Linked DNA regions of Homo sapiens: region 2 is linked to region 1. Evidence: promoter capture Hi-C in 16 types of primary human blood cells and fetal thymus (Javierre and others, 2016). All regions are on one chromosome and are shown on one strand. The core of a region is centred on a gene start or on the middle of the fragment in contact, and the rest is flanking DNA. Distances in the headings are between cores, read along the strand shown. Region 1 holds the start of LINC02108 (long intergenic non-protein coding RNA 2108). Region 2 overlaps GAPT (GRB2 binding adaptor protein, transmembrane).

Region 1 (7,014 bases), core at 461-2,960:
TTTGGCTGGATATGAAATTCTGGGTTGAAAATTCTTTTCTTTAAGAATGTTGAATATTGGCCCCCACTCTCTTCTGGCTTGTAGAGTTTCTGCCGAGAGATCCGCTGTTAGTCTGATGGGCTTCCCTTTGAGGGTAACCCGACCTTTCTCTCTAGCTGCCCTTAACATTTTTTCCTTCATTTCAACTTTGGTGAATCTGACAATTATGTGTCTTGGAGTTGCTCTTCTCGAGGAGTATCTTTGTGGTGTTCTCTGTATTTCCTGAATCTGAATGTTGGCCTGCCTTGCTAGATTGGGGAAGTTCTCCTGGATAATATCCTGCAGAGTGTTTTCCAACTTGGTTCCATTCTCCCCATCACTTTCAGTTACACCAATCAGACGTAGATTTGGTCTTTTCACATAGTCCCATTTTTCTTGGAGGCTTTGCTCATTTCTTTTTATTGTTTTTGCTCTAACCTTCCCTTCTCGCTTCATTTCATTCATTTCATCTTCCATTGCTGATACCCTTTCTTCCAGTTGATCGCATCGGCTCCTGAGGCTTCTGCATTCTTCACGTAGTTCTCGAGCCTTGGTTTTCAGCTCCATCAGCTCCTTTAAGCACTTCTCTGTATTGGTTATTCTAGTTATACATTCATCTAAATTTTTTTCAAAGTTTTCAACTTCTTTGCCTTTGGTTTGAATGTCCTCCCGTAGCTCAGAGTAATTTGATCGTCTGAAGCCTTCTTCTCTCAGCTCTTCAAAGTCATTCTCCATCCAGCTTTGTTCCGTTGCTGGTGAGGAACTGCGTTCCTTTGGAGGAGAAGAGGCGCTCTGCGTTTTAGAGTTTCCAGTTTTTCTGTTCTGTTTTTTCCCCATCTTTGTGGTTTTATCTACTTTTGGTCTTTGATGATGGTGATGTACAGATGGGTTTTCGGTGTGGATGTCCTTTCTGTTTGTTAGTTTTCCTTCTAACAGACAGGACCCTCAGCTGCAGGTCTGTTGGAATACCCTGCCGTGTGAGGTGTCAGTGTGCCCCTCCTGGGGGTGCCTCCCAGTTAGGCTGCTCAGGGGTCAGGGGTCAGGGACCCACTTGAGGAGGCAGTCTGACGGTTCTCAGATCTCCAGCTGGGTGCTGGGAGAACCACTGCTCCCTTCAAAGCTGTCAGACAGGGACATTTAAGTCGCAGAGGTTACTGCTGTCTTTTTGTTTGTCTGTGCCCTGCCCCCAGAGGTGGAGCCTACAGTGGCAGGCAGGCCTCCTTGAGCTGTGGTGGGCTCCACCCAGTTCGAGCTGCTTTGTTTACCTAAGCAAGCCTGGGCAATGGCGGGCGCCCCTCCCACAGCCTCGCTGCCGCCTTGCAGTTCGATCTCAGACTGCTGTGCTAGCAATCAGGGAGACTCTGTGGGCGTAGGACACTCCGAGCCAGGTGTGGGATATAGTCTCGTGGTGCGCCGTTTTTTAAGCCGGTCTGAAAAGCGCAATATTCGGGTGGGAGTGAACTGATTTTCCAGGTGCGTCCGTTACCCCTTTCTTTGACTCGGAAAGGGAACTCCCTGACCCCTTGAGCTTCCCAGGTGAGGCAATGCCTCGCCCTGCTTTGGCTCGCGCACCGTGCGCGCACCCACTGGCCTGCACCCACTGTCTGACACTCCCTAGTGAGATGAACCCGGTACCTCAGATGGAAATGCAGAAATCATCCGTCTTCTGCGTGGCTCACGCTGGGAGCTGTAGACCGGAGCTGTTCCTATTCGGCCGTCTTGGCTCCTCCCCCCTTTTCTTTTGTTCTTAATGGTAAATAAAATAATGATGTATCTCGTAATCAATTGATGACATCTTAGAATTGATAAAATATGCTAAACTTCCTTCCTCCTTCTTCTGATCAAGTCACATAATATGTAATCTTAAAAACATTTATTTTAGCTGATTTTGATAAGCATCACATTGTATTCACAGTATTGTTCACATATATAATGTTTACATTAAACATTATTTCACATTTATTAATTATAACATGTAATCTTATATTGCATTGATGCTGGAGAAAAAATCTTTCATTTACTCCCAAATGTATATTTTCACTTCTTTTAAGGCATTTATTATAATAGTCCAAGATCAATTGCAAGTATTCATAAATGCAATAGGAAATGCTATAAATTGATCATTTAAAGAAATCTTAGTAGGTTTAGTTTTTTACAACAGAGCTGCATTGAACAATTACTGCACACATACACTGTGGTAAGGCTGAGAAAGCACACAAATGTTAACATGCAGCCCCAACCTCAGGAAGCTCAACATTTGTCACATTTAATGACATGAATTGATAAGGATTCTTTTTTGGTTTTGTAAGAGAAAAGGTCTTCTGTCATCCAGGCTGGAGTGCAGTGGCACAATCATAGCTTACTGTAACCTCAAACTCCTGGGCTTAAGTGATCCTCCCAACTCAGCCTCCCGAAATGTTGGGATTACAGGTGTGAGCCACTGCACCTGGCCTGAATGTATTCTTTCTAAGGAAATCTGAGGGGTCATAAATAGCATGGGGCACATAATTTTCTTTCTTTCAGATGTACCAAGAGGAAAAAAAAATCACAAACTTTGATAAGTAAAAGACATAAATAATATGATAGTGCTGCATTAAGTAGTACAAAGTGGAACACTTCAGATGTACCCAGCAAATGCTCTTGTTGAACAAAATAGTCTGGGTGTCTGTTCATTTCACTCATAATTACTGAGTGCCCACTCTATACTTAATATGAAGATGTGATGATTAGTTTTATTTGTCAACTTGGCTAGACCACAGTCCCTAATTATTCAATCAAATGTTAATCCAAGTGTTGCCATGAAGGCATTTTGTGTGTTATTAAAGTCCACAATCAATTGATTTTAAGTAAGGGAGATTATACTACATAATCTGAGTGGGCTTGATTTATTCAGTCCATTTAAAGGCCCTGAGAGCAAAGCTAAGGCTTCCCTGAAGAAGAAAAGCAAGCCCTATGAGGTAGCTATTAGCATTATTCCTATTTTACAGACTAGGACACTGAGGCTTAGAGTTCAATATCTGCAGACTTCAGTTCAACTCATGCCCAAGTTCCAAACTGTCCCTCCTGATATCCAGCCCTACAGATTTCAGACTTGTCCAGCCAGTCCCCAAAATCACTTAGGTCTATTTCTTGCAATAAATCACTTAACATCTATTTCTTACTGGTTCCGTTACTCTAGTTGAACCCTGACTTAATATATGAGAAGCAAGGGATACACAAGACAGACTCAGGCCTTGTTCCTACCAATTGTATGGTTTAGTGGAAATGTTACAGGAGAAGCTAAGTGATTACAAGACAGCCTTATGAAGGTAAAAGTACAGATACCTAGCTTAGACTTCAGAGTGTTACGAGTAAGAAAAGTTTCCTGGAAGACTGAAGTTTAATTTGAGAGTTGAAAAACTGAGTATGAATTAAGAAAGTAAAGTGTGTGTGTGCACATGCGTGTTGCAGGCAGTACAGTGATAAAGCATTTCTAGCAGAATACCTACCCTGTGCTAAAGGCTACAGGTAAGAGGGAGCATGGTACAATGGAAGACTGGTAGAAACTTCTGCAAAACTGGTGCACAGAGAGTGAAGGTGGAGTGCTGAGAGATAAAAACTATGGAAATGAGCAGAAGCTAGATCATGAAGTCTTGAGAGTCATGTCAAGTTGCTGGGCACACAGAAGCCACTTAAGGGTTTTTAGTATAGATAACACTTGATCACTTTTAGATTTGGGGAAAATCATTCAGAATGCAATGTGGAGAATTGATTGAGAGAAAATAAAGATTGGGAACTAGAAGAAATAATTCAAATGACTAATCATGGTGACCTAGTTTGGGTGAAAGCAGTGGGAATGGAGAGAATTGCATTGGAGAGATATTTAGACAGTGGAGTGAACAATACGTGGTGATTGATTGAATTTGAGGAATGATGGAGATTGAAAGTCATTGTCAAAACATGATTTCTCACCTAAATAAGTAGGTGGATGATGGGACCATTCACAAAGATGAGAAATAAGAAGGATTAAGTGTGGAGCAGAGGAAGACTATGTTTGAGGTACTTACGGGCATACTGTTGGAGATCACCAGTCAGCAGTTAGCTATGCCAGTTTAAAGGAGAGGAGATGATCTAGGTTCAAAATATGGATCTAAGAGGCATTACTGTATCAATGGAAATTGAAGCTAGGATGCAGATGAGATTGCCTAGGGAGGTAGCAGAGAGAGGGCAGGAAAAATACTGGCGTATACCCTGGAACAACCCCAACATGTCCAATGTGAAAAGAAGATCCCTCACAATAGAAGGCAGTAGTTTTAAAATCAGGTTAAAAACATGACTTAGAATATGGCCTTCCTTAGGATTGTTTTTCTCCACAATTCACTGGTGAATATGAAAATTTATTAAGATCCAAAGACAGCACAATGTTTTCAGTTGTAGATTCACTCACTTTCTATACTAACACGATCTGGCTAGCATTTGTTTTACAGGTTGAAAAGCATTTCCGCGTACATTCATTTCTTCATTCAATTCTGCAAAAATAATGGTAATACCTATGAAGTAGTTATTAGCATTACTCATATTTTACAGACAAGGACACTGAGGCTTACAGAAGTTCAATATTTTCAACTTGTCCAAGCTCACCCAGCTCCATCCTAGTGCCTCTGACCATCAGTCCCTTTAGTATGGCCTTTTATAGTGGCATACATTCAAAAATAGCCCTGAAGCTATGGCTGACCCTCTATCACAAGTAGGAACATAAAAGTTTACAGGAGCCAAATGGTGAATCAACATTTCTGCTCTAAAAATGGAGTAGCTGAAATTGCATGTAGGTCTTTTGATGCCATAGAATCAGCTCTTAGTACCTGCTGACTCATAGTAACTATGTAGTAAATTTTTATGGTCTATGACTTTAATAACATTTTGTTTTTTTTATATTGCTTTGTCTTAATATGAAATTGGTCCTCTGTCTATCCACAGCAAGCATCATAATTGTTCTAGGAACTCACTAACATTTTGCCAGAAGGTGTATAGTCCCTTCTGAAAACAAAGTAATAAATAAATATTAACCCTAATGATTATTTTTCTTCTTTAGTTCCAGACTCTCTGGTACCATAAAATTAAAATATGGAGATATTATTTTGGAACCTGAAAGCTACTAAAATTTGCCACCAGGATTCTAATAATCAGTTTCAAGGGAATTGATAAGGAACAACAGTATGATTCAAAACTTAATGCAATAATACTGAAAGACCTTTGTAATTTTTTATACATAAATTTATGAATCATTGCAGGACGGATCCACCTACAAATGTCTTACTAGCCCACCCTCGACCAAAGAAGTACAAAATAAGATTGAAAACAGCATATCCTCCACTTGAAAGATTGTCTGGAGATCAATGACCTAATCAATATGAAAGTGATTAGTAAATAGCAAATTCCCACATGATAAGTTATTCTTATTATTTTATTAATGATAATAATCTAGGTTCTACTTCAGTCTAGCAGGACCATCTTGTCACAAAATGTATCACTGCTTGAAAATTCTACATGAGCAATATTTTTTTATCCAGATGAATTTAATCAACCCAGAGTAATTCCAGCATCAATGAAAACAATATCCAGATTTAGGATTTGTATAGAAGGCTGATGTAACTGGAGAAAGAAACTCAGGGCCTTGCTGAATGCTTAGGGTTACGTGAGTAACTTCCTTTTAGTGGTGATATTTATTTCTCCAAGTCTAACTGTTCAATTTTCCTAGCAGTGTAAGTGCTGGAGTGATGACCCAGGGAATCACCTTGTATTTCCTTGAATGGCTATTATGTCCCATGTAAGCCATTGCTTCTTTTGAAAAACCGGGTTCCAGTTTTTGGTCTCCAATTTGGTTGACATGTGACCCTTGGCAATTCACTTTACCTTTAGCTTTGTTTCCTCACCTATAAAATGGGATTATAATAATAATTCTTTTTATTTTTTTTTTAGTATTTATTGATCATTCTTGGGTGTTTCTCAGAGAGGGGGATGTGGCAGGGTCATAGGATAATAGTGGAGAGAAGGTCAGCAGATAAACACGAGAACAAAGGTCTCTGGTTTTCCTAGGCAGAGGTCCCTGCGGCCTTCCGCAGTGTTTGTGTCCCTGGGTACTTGAGATTAGGGAGTGGTGATGACTCTTAACGAGCATGCTGCCTTCAAGCATCTGTTTAACAAAGCACATCTTGCACTGCCCTTAATCCATTTAACCCTGAGTTGACACAGCACATATTTCAGAGAGCAGGGGGGTGGGGGTAAGGTTATAGATTAACAGCATCCCAAGGCAGAAGAATTTTTCTTAGTACAGAACAAAATGGAGTCTCCTATGTCTACTTCTTTCTACACAGACACGGTAACAATCTGATCTCTCTTTCTTTTCCCCACATTTCCCGCTTTTGTTTTCGACAAAACCGCCATCGTCATCATGGGCCATTCTCGATGGTCGCTGTCTCTTCGGAGCTGTTGGGTACACTTCCCAGACGGGGCAGCCTGGCAGAGGCGCTCCTCACTTCCCAGATGGGGCTGCCAGGCAGAGGCGCTCCTCACCTCCCAGACGGGGTGGTGGCCTGGCAGAGGTGCTCCTCATATCCCAGACAAACAGCGGCCGGGCAGAGGCGCCCCCCACTTCCCAGACGGGGCAGCCGGGCAGAGGCGCTCCTCACATCCCAGATGGGGCAGCCGGGCAGAGGCGCTCCTCACCTCCCAGGCGTGGTGGTGGGGCAGAGACACTCCTCACCTCCCAGACGATGGGCGGCCAGGCAGAGGCGCTCCCCACATCCCAGACAGGGTGGCTGGGCAGAGGCGCTCGTCACCTCCCAGATGATGGGCGGCCTGGCAGAGGCACTCCTCACTTCTCAGGTGGGGTGGCGGGGCAAAGACGCTCCTCACCTCCCAGACGATGGGCAGCTGGGCAGAGGCGCTCCCCACATCCCAGACGGGGTGGCCAGGCAGAGGCGCTCCTCACCTCCCAGACAGGGCAGCCGGGCAGAG
Region 2 (6,950 bases), core at 4,298-6,797, 59 kb before region 1:
CACTCAGGGTTGGGCAGGGACAGGATTTTTCTAACTCTTTTTCCTTTCATCACAACGGGTAGTATATTTTATATTAAAAGCAGAAGCTCACTATATGCTGGTGTTTAATGCATTGGTGAAAATCAGTAATTTTTCTATGTTAGATAATAAGTATGCAATTAACATATTTTTAATTTATAGCAGGTTTCTGGATGGCAGATCATTCAACCTTCTTTTTCTTGAGTTTTCTACTCTGCTGTCATCTTCCACTCATTTCTGCTTCATTTTGTGATTCGTTAACAGAAAAGGAAGTGGAATGGAATAAAATCCCCCAATACAGTACAATTATACATTAATGGCTGTAATGTGAAGAGCATCACACACGAAGAGAGCCATCTTCCAGAAATAAGTTTATACACTCTCTCCTCTAATTGCATCAGGACTTTACCAGATAATGTTCTTCCAGATCTGAAAAGGAAAATGCCTAAAAGAGCTTCCAAACTCATTTTTGAATAATACTAGGCTACAAAGAATTACACTGTGAATTCATTAAGGGTAACACCAAATCACTAAACAGCACTGTTTGTACAGAAATGTCGAAAAGCTGTGGAAATAATTTAGCGGCCATTTCTGTAGGAATTTCGCTTCTTTTACTCTTAGTGGTTTGTGGAATTGGGTGTGTTTGGCACTGGAAACACCGTGTTGCCACACGATTTACCTTACCGAGGTTTTTACAAAGGAGAAGCAGCAGGAGAAAAGTCTGTACTAAAACATTCTTGGGCCCCCGCATCATTGGCTTAAGGCATGAAATCTCAGTTGAAACCCAAGACCACAAATCTGCTGTCAGGGGAAATAACACACACGACAACTATGAAAATGTGGAAGCAGGTCCTCCCAAAGCTAAAGGAAAAACCGATAAGGAACTATATGAAAACACAGGGCAGTCTAATTTCGAGGAGCATATCTATGGAAATGAGACATCTTCTGACTATTATAACTTCCAGAAGCCTCGTCCTTCTGAAGTTCCTCAAGATGAAGATATATACATTCTTCCAGATTCATATTAGCTTTTCAAAATATTGACTTTTGTTATTGGATGATAAATATTCACTGTAATTTTTCAACAGCAAAGACAAGGAATCAAACTAAATGTTGATCAACTGTAGACTGGATAAAGAAAATGTGGTACACATACACCATAGAATATTATGCAGCCGTAAAAAAAGAACAAAACTAACATGGGAACAGAAAATCAAATACCACATATTCTCACTTAAAAGTGGGAGCTAAATAATAAGAACACATGGAGAGAAGGAGAGGAACAACAGACACTGGGGCCTACTTGAGGGAGGACAGTGGAAGGAGGGAGAGGTTCAGGGAAAAAAAAAATATCAGGTACTATGCTTAGTACACACATGATGAAATAATCTGTACACCAAACCCCCAAGTCACAAGTGTTCCTACATAACAAACCTGAACATGTACCCCTGAACATAAAATTATAATTAAAATATTAAAAATAATTCACTGTGATTTTTATTGTACTGATGCCATTCTTAATCAAGTTCTGATAAGTGGATGGTCTCTGCCTATCTCCACCTTTCTGAATCCTATGTGTATCGCTGTGGATTAATTCTAGATATCTTCTCCACCCTCCTTGCACCAGACTAAATCTGTATTATGTGATATTGATTCTTCCTTCTAAATATTACCCGTTATCTCTTTCCTTTATTTCTACCATTATCTTTATCTGGCTCAGAATTATTGTCATAGGCTCCTAACTGTTCCTCCTGCTTCTAGTTTCTACCCACTCAATCAATTACCGATGGTGTTGCCAGATTTATCTTCAGAAAATATTCCTAACAGCCACATTATTTCTTTCACTTAAAATGTTTTAATGCCCCCTCTTTGCAAAAGACATAATACCCATAATTTGAACTCCAAAATTTATGGTTTTCCACAATTGGTTCCAATTCACTTTTCCAGTGACTTCTCTTACTATCTCTCATTTCTTTGCCTTCAGCAGAATCATCTTAAAACCTGCCAAACTTATCCTTCCTTCACAGCTTTGCTTTTCTGCCTCTTCTCTCAAGCCTGCTTCAGATCATAAGTTCTTCCACACATCTCCTGAATCACTCCAAACCCGCATTTACCTTTTTATTTTCTGATATAAGCTTTGATGCCTCTTCAATTCTTAGGACATTTAAACATATGAATGTTGCCACAGCATTTTATTACCTAGCTTCATATGAAAATGTCTTAAATTCCCACCTAAATGAAAAGAAACTGCCCAAATGCCTAGAACATCACATAAGGCACTAAATGCCTCATGTTTTACTGACGGGAATTGAATTGTACATTTTGCTGAGTAGTTTTGAGAAAAAAATCTAATAAATTCATCTGTTATTCATCCATACAAGGAATATTTGTTGTGTCTTCTATCTACTTGCTATTGTGCTGTGCACCTGAGGGACATGGGTTGGTGGAGGGGTTACAAAATTAAAAAGAGAGACATGGATCCTGAACACATACAGTCTAGTAGGAAAGAAAACATAGTAAACAAATGAATACGATGCTGCTCATGAAGCTATGATAGCTCATCTCTAAATCCACTCTTTTATTTGCTCCTCTGAATTGCTTGACCTGGGCCTCTGCAAACATTTCTTTTGCCAGGTGGATCCATTCTATTCTCTACCAATAGGGGGCACTAAGGAAGACCGAAAGGCAGTAGGAGGCAACAGGGAATTGCTCCTGCCTATTCTTTCTGTTGCCCCCGCAGGAATTTATTGCCATGTGGTTTACTCCAGCATCACTGGTTGTTTGCAGCTTTCTAGTTTCTTCCATCATTCCCAGGACCAGCTTCTCTGCAACCTGTCAGAAGCACCAGCACCAGCCAGGTGGCACCCTCCCTTAGACTCTGACAGCCAGACTCTCCTTCAACCTCCTGAAGTGGTGCAGGAGACAAGTGGTACCCTCAGAGTTCTGCGTCCCAGCCTGGCAGGGCTCCTCCTCTGAGGTCTGGTAACTCTCAGCCAAGATTGTTACAGTTACTATCTCTGTGGTACCTGTGTCCCCTTTTTTGTTTTTCCATCCTGCCAATGCCTGTTTAGCCAATTATCTATATTAAATTCTCTCTGTTAAAACAAATTGATATGGTTTCTGTTTTCTAAGTGTACCCGGGATGATACATATCAAAATGGTAGTAGGTGCTTTATAAAAAATTCTTTCTGTTTTTGAAACCAATGGGGTTGGGTAGGAGAGACTGTTTTAATTTTAATAGGGTGGTCAAAGGAGGCCTCACTGGAGACCATTTAAGCTGAGACTTGAAGGCAGAAGGAAGCTATAATAAATGTGATGGGCAGAGAGTAAGAATGGGACCCACCCGTGAAAAGAATCTGGGGCCTAAGAGAATTTATGGTGCTCTAGGAAGCCATTGTGGCTGGAGTTTCCTGAGGAAGGGTTGGAGTGACACCTGCTGCGTTGGTGAAGGAGGGAATGGGAGACCATGAGCTTCTCATAAGTCTTAGTACGTGGCTTTGACTCTATTATAGGTGCAACGGGAATCAGTAAAGGGTTTTAAGCAGAGACGTGATGATGACACTAGCATTTTTAAAAGATTTACTGGGTTGAGAAGTGACTGGAAAGAGGCCAAAATGGAAGTGGGTAGGATAGCTAAGAAGCTTCTACATTTAAGTTAGACTAGAGTGGCTGCAGTGCAGATAAAGACATTGACAATGCTGCCTGTCCTTCAAGGAGACGGCACAGGACTTACTGATGGACTCAGTGTGTGTGCTTGATAGGGGAGGGGCAAGACTGGAGTGTGGGAAAGAGAAGAGTCTACAGGGATAATTGCAAAGTACTTTACAGAGATGAGGAAGACTTAAAGAAGAAACAGGCTTGGAGGCCACATCAGTTAGGAATGAGTTGGGCTGCTAATGACAGAAAACCACACTCCAGGGGCTTGGACACTGATAGTTCCATTTATTTCACCTAACAAGGAGGCTACAGTTAGGCATTTGATGGCTAACATCAGCTCAATGATACCATATAGAAAGACCCAGGCTCTTTCTCTATTTCCTCTCTGCCACCCTTAGTGTTTCAACTTTTATCTTCATCTCTATTGCCTCATGGCCACCATACAGCTGCTGAATCTTTAAGCCTTCTATTCATGCTTCAGCCATGAAGAAGAAATGAGGGGAAAGAGCAGAACCAGGAGATATCTACTTATCTCATTGCTCAGAATTGTGTCACACAGACACCATCTGGTGTAGGAGTGCATGGACAATTGAATTTTTACCTTTGGTAACCTCATAGAGTGGGCAGAAAAAGAAAAGTGGAGTTGAAAATAGAATGTGACTCAGTCAACCTCTAATTCTTGCGACAAGGGCAAAACTCAGTTTTGAACATATTTATTTTGACATTTCCTGAAATATGTCCTGAGACCCAAGTAGAAATATCCAGTTTGCCGTTGTATGTGCACATTTGGATTTTAGAGGAGAGGTCCTGGCTGGAGATGTAAATTTGACAGTCATGAGCATTTAGGTGGTATTTACAGGAATAAGAATGGATGCCATCTCCTGGGAAGACACCAGGGGGAGCACAGAGTCGGGAATCAAGAAAGGAGGAAAGGGAGGAATCTAGAAGTTTTCCAGAAATTGTAGTATTTTGAGGATAAATTAATGAGGAGACTCTGGTATAGGTGGCTGAGAAAGAGTGGCCAGTTAGGAGATCTCTATATGGCATCATTGAGCTGATATTAGCCATCAAAAGCCTAACTGCAGGTTCCTTGTTAGGTGAAATGAATGGACTATCAGTGTCTAAGCCCATGGAGTGTAGTTTTCTATCATTGACAGCTCAACTCATTCTTAATACAGCCTCCAAACCTGTTCCTTCTGTAAGTCTTCCTCATCTCTGTAAAGCACTTTGCAATTATCCCTGTATACTCTTCTCTTTCCCACACTCCCAGTCTTACCCCTTCCCTACCAAACACACACACTGAGTTCATCAGTAAGTCCTGTGCCATTTTCTTGAAGAATGGGCAGCATTGTCAATGTGTTTATCTGCGCTACAGCCACTCCAGTCTAATGTAAATGTAAAAGCTTAAATGTAAAAGAAGTAAAGTCCTATGATCTCTAAGAATGGTGGTTTGTGTTGTAAAATATGTGATGTATTGACATTTGTCCATTATAATTGATTATCCAAAGTGTCAAAAGATGAAATTTCAATAGATTAAGTTTAAAGATTGAGCTAGTTTTATCAGCAATTCATAAATCTGGCAGCATCCCATTTGAAGGTTTAAACAGGTACTCCATTGGGCTTGGCAGAAGAGTCCATTTTCATAAGGCAACTTAAGCAAGGACGATAAAACAGTATAATATAAAAAAGAGGATTGGTTAACATCAGGTTACTTTAGGTTACTTTTCTTGCAATTACTGAAGCACAGGGGACTTCCTTATCATTCAGGCTAAAACTGGTCTGTTTGGGGATTTGGCTATTATCTCTCTTCTGATGTCTCAGAAAGTCAGATAAACAAGTTTCAGTTTGGTGGGATGGAGCTTTGGCCTGAGTGACTCCATTTACATTTGGTCTGTTGGAATCTAGTGCAAAAGCTCACTAATCTAATCAATGGACTCGCATAAATTTCATTTAACAAGAGATGTAGTGAATATTTGACGTTTGTTTACTCTCTTTGACCAGAAAAGATAGTAAAAGAAGTATTTAGTCAATGGTTCTTTACCTAATTCTTACCTTGACTTCCTTTTAAAATTAATTGTAAGTTCTTTATCAATTGCTGAGGGGAATAAAGAAATACATCATTCAAGTTTCTCTTTTTACTATACATACCCTCCATTCTTCACCCCCTCTCCTATCCTGTCTTCTCTCCCTCCCTCTCTCATTTCTCCTCCTTCATCAATATGCTTCCTCCACCTCTTTCTTCTCTTTTTTCTAACTCTATCTTTCTCTTGCCTTCAAATTCCTATCTCTTATCTGCATTCTTTATTACAGCATTTCTTTGCCTTCTCAAAATCTCAAAAGTAAAGCTTGTGCACAGGAAATAAAGATGATAAAGTCTGTCTGCATCAGTTGAAAGCAGCAGTTTCTCGTTTGGGTTACACTATTTAAAAAAGGAACCACATGTAAACAATTTAAAAGGAAGGATGTTGGGGGTGGGGGAAAAGAGACAGTAGCATCGAATATACTGAGTATGACTTTGTTACAGACACACTTAGGTGTGTTCACATTCCATGACTTACAGCCAGTTCAAGACTGGCCAGCATCCAGCAACAATGAGCACCTGATGTCTTGACCTTGCTTTCAGCCTCCAACATGAAACATTTTACTGCAATTTGCTTTATACTTCACTTCTCACCCTATTATTGATCTCCACAACAATTGGATCCCTGATAAGCCCATTGAAAGCCTTGCTTTACAACCTCTCAGTTACTTCTTTGACCAGGGCCTGTGGGCAGATTGGGATACTGGGCTCCAAGGAGGAGAGCTAAAAGAAATCAAAAAGGGGAGGTGATGCCTGTATCCACATTGTTACAGGCTGGAGGTTTGTGTTCTCTGAAATTCATACGTTGAAGCCTTACTTCCCAACGTGATGGTATTTGGAGGTGGGGCTTTGAGAGGAATTAATAATTAGGTTTAGATGAGGTCATCAGGGTGCAGCCCTCATGATGGAATTAGTGCTCTTATAAGAGAACAGAGTTCTCTCTCTTTCTCTCTCTCTCTCCTTCTCTCTCTCTCTCTCTTCCTCCCTTCCTTCCACCACCCCCTGCCCCCACCTCCCAGCACCATGTGAGGACACAACATGAAAGCAGCCATCTGCAGGCCAGAAAGTGGGTTCTTACCAAGAAACAAATCAGCCAGCACCTTGACCTTGGACTTCTCAGACTCCAGAACTGTAATAAATAAATGTCTATGGTTTTAGGCACCCAATCTATGGTCTTTTGTTATAGCAGCCCAAG

The links. Contacts are between HindIII fragments. The CHiCAGO score rates a contact against its expected background, and 5 or more counts as called.
Region 2: a contact is called between a fragment that was not itself captured here and the fragment with the promoter of LINC02108 in region 1, in 1 of 17 cell types (M2 macrophages). The highest score is 5.9, in M2 macrophages.

The regions. Positions count from the first base shown.
Region 1 is chr5:58,556,533-58,563,546 of GRCh38, forward strand. LINC02108 (long intergenic non-protein coding RNA 2108) reads right to left here and starts at 1,711. Exons shown (of 4, transcript NR_109904.1): 1 at 1,654-1,711. RefSeq lists an enhancer at 5,898-6,423. The HindIII fragment of the contact is 10,011 bases long and covers 1-7,014 here.
Region 2 is chr5:58,493,965-58,500,914 of GRCh38, forward strand. GAPT (GRB2 binding adaptor protein, transmembrane) reads left to right here. Exons shown (of 3, transcript NM_001304431.2): 3 at 283-3,126. The coding sequence starts at 573. The coding sequence ends at 1,046. Among named protein-coding and RNA genes, the nearest start is that of GAPT, 6.0 kb to the left of the region's middle. The HindIII fragment of the contact is 942 bases long and covers 5,077-6,018 here.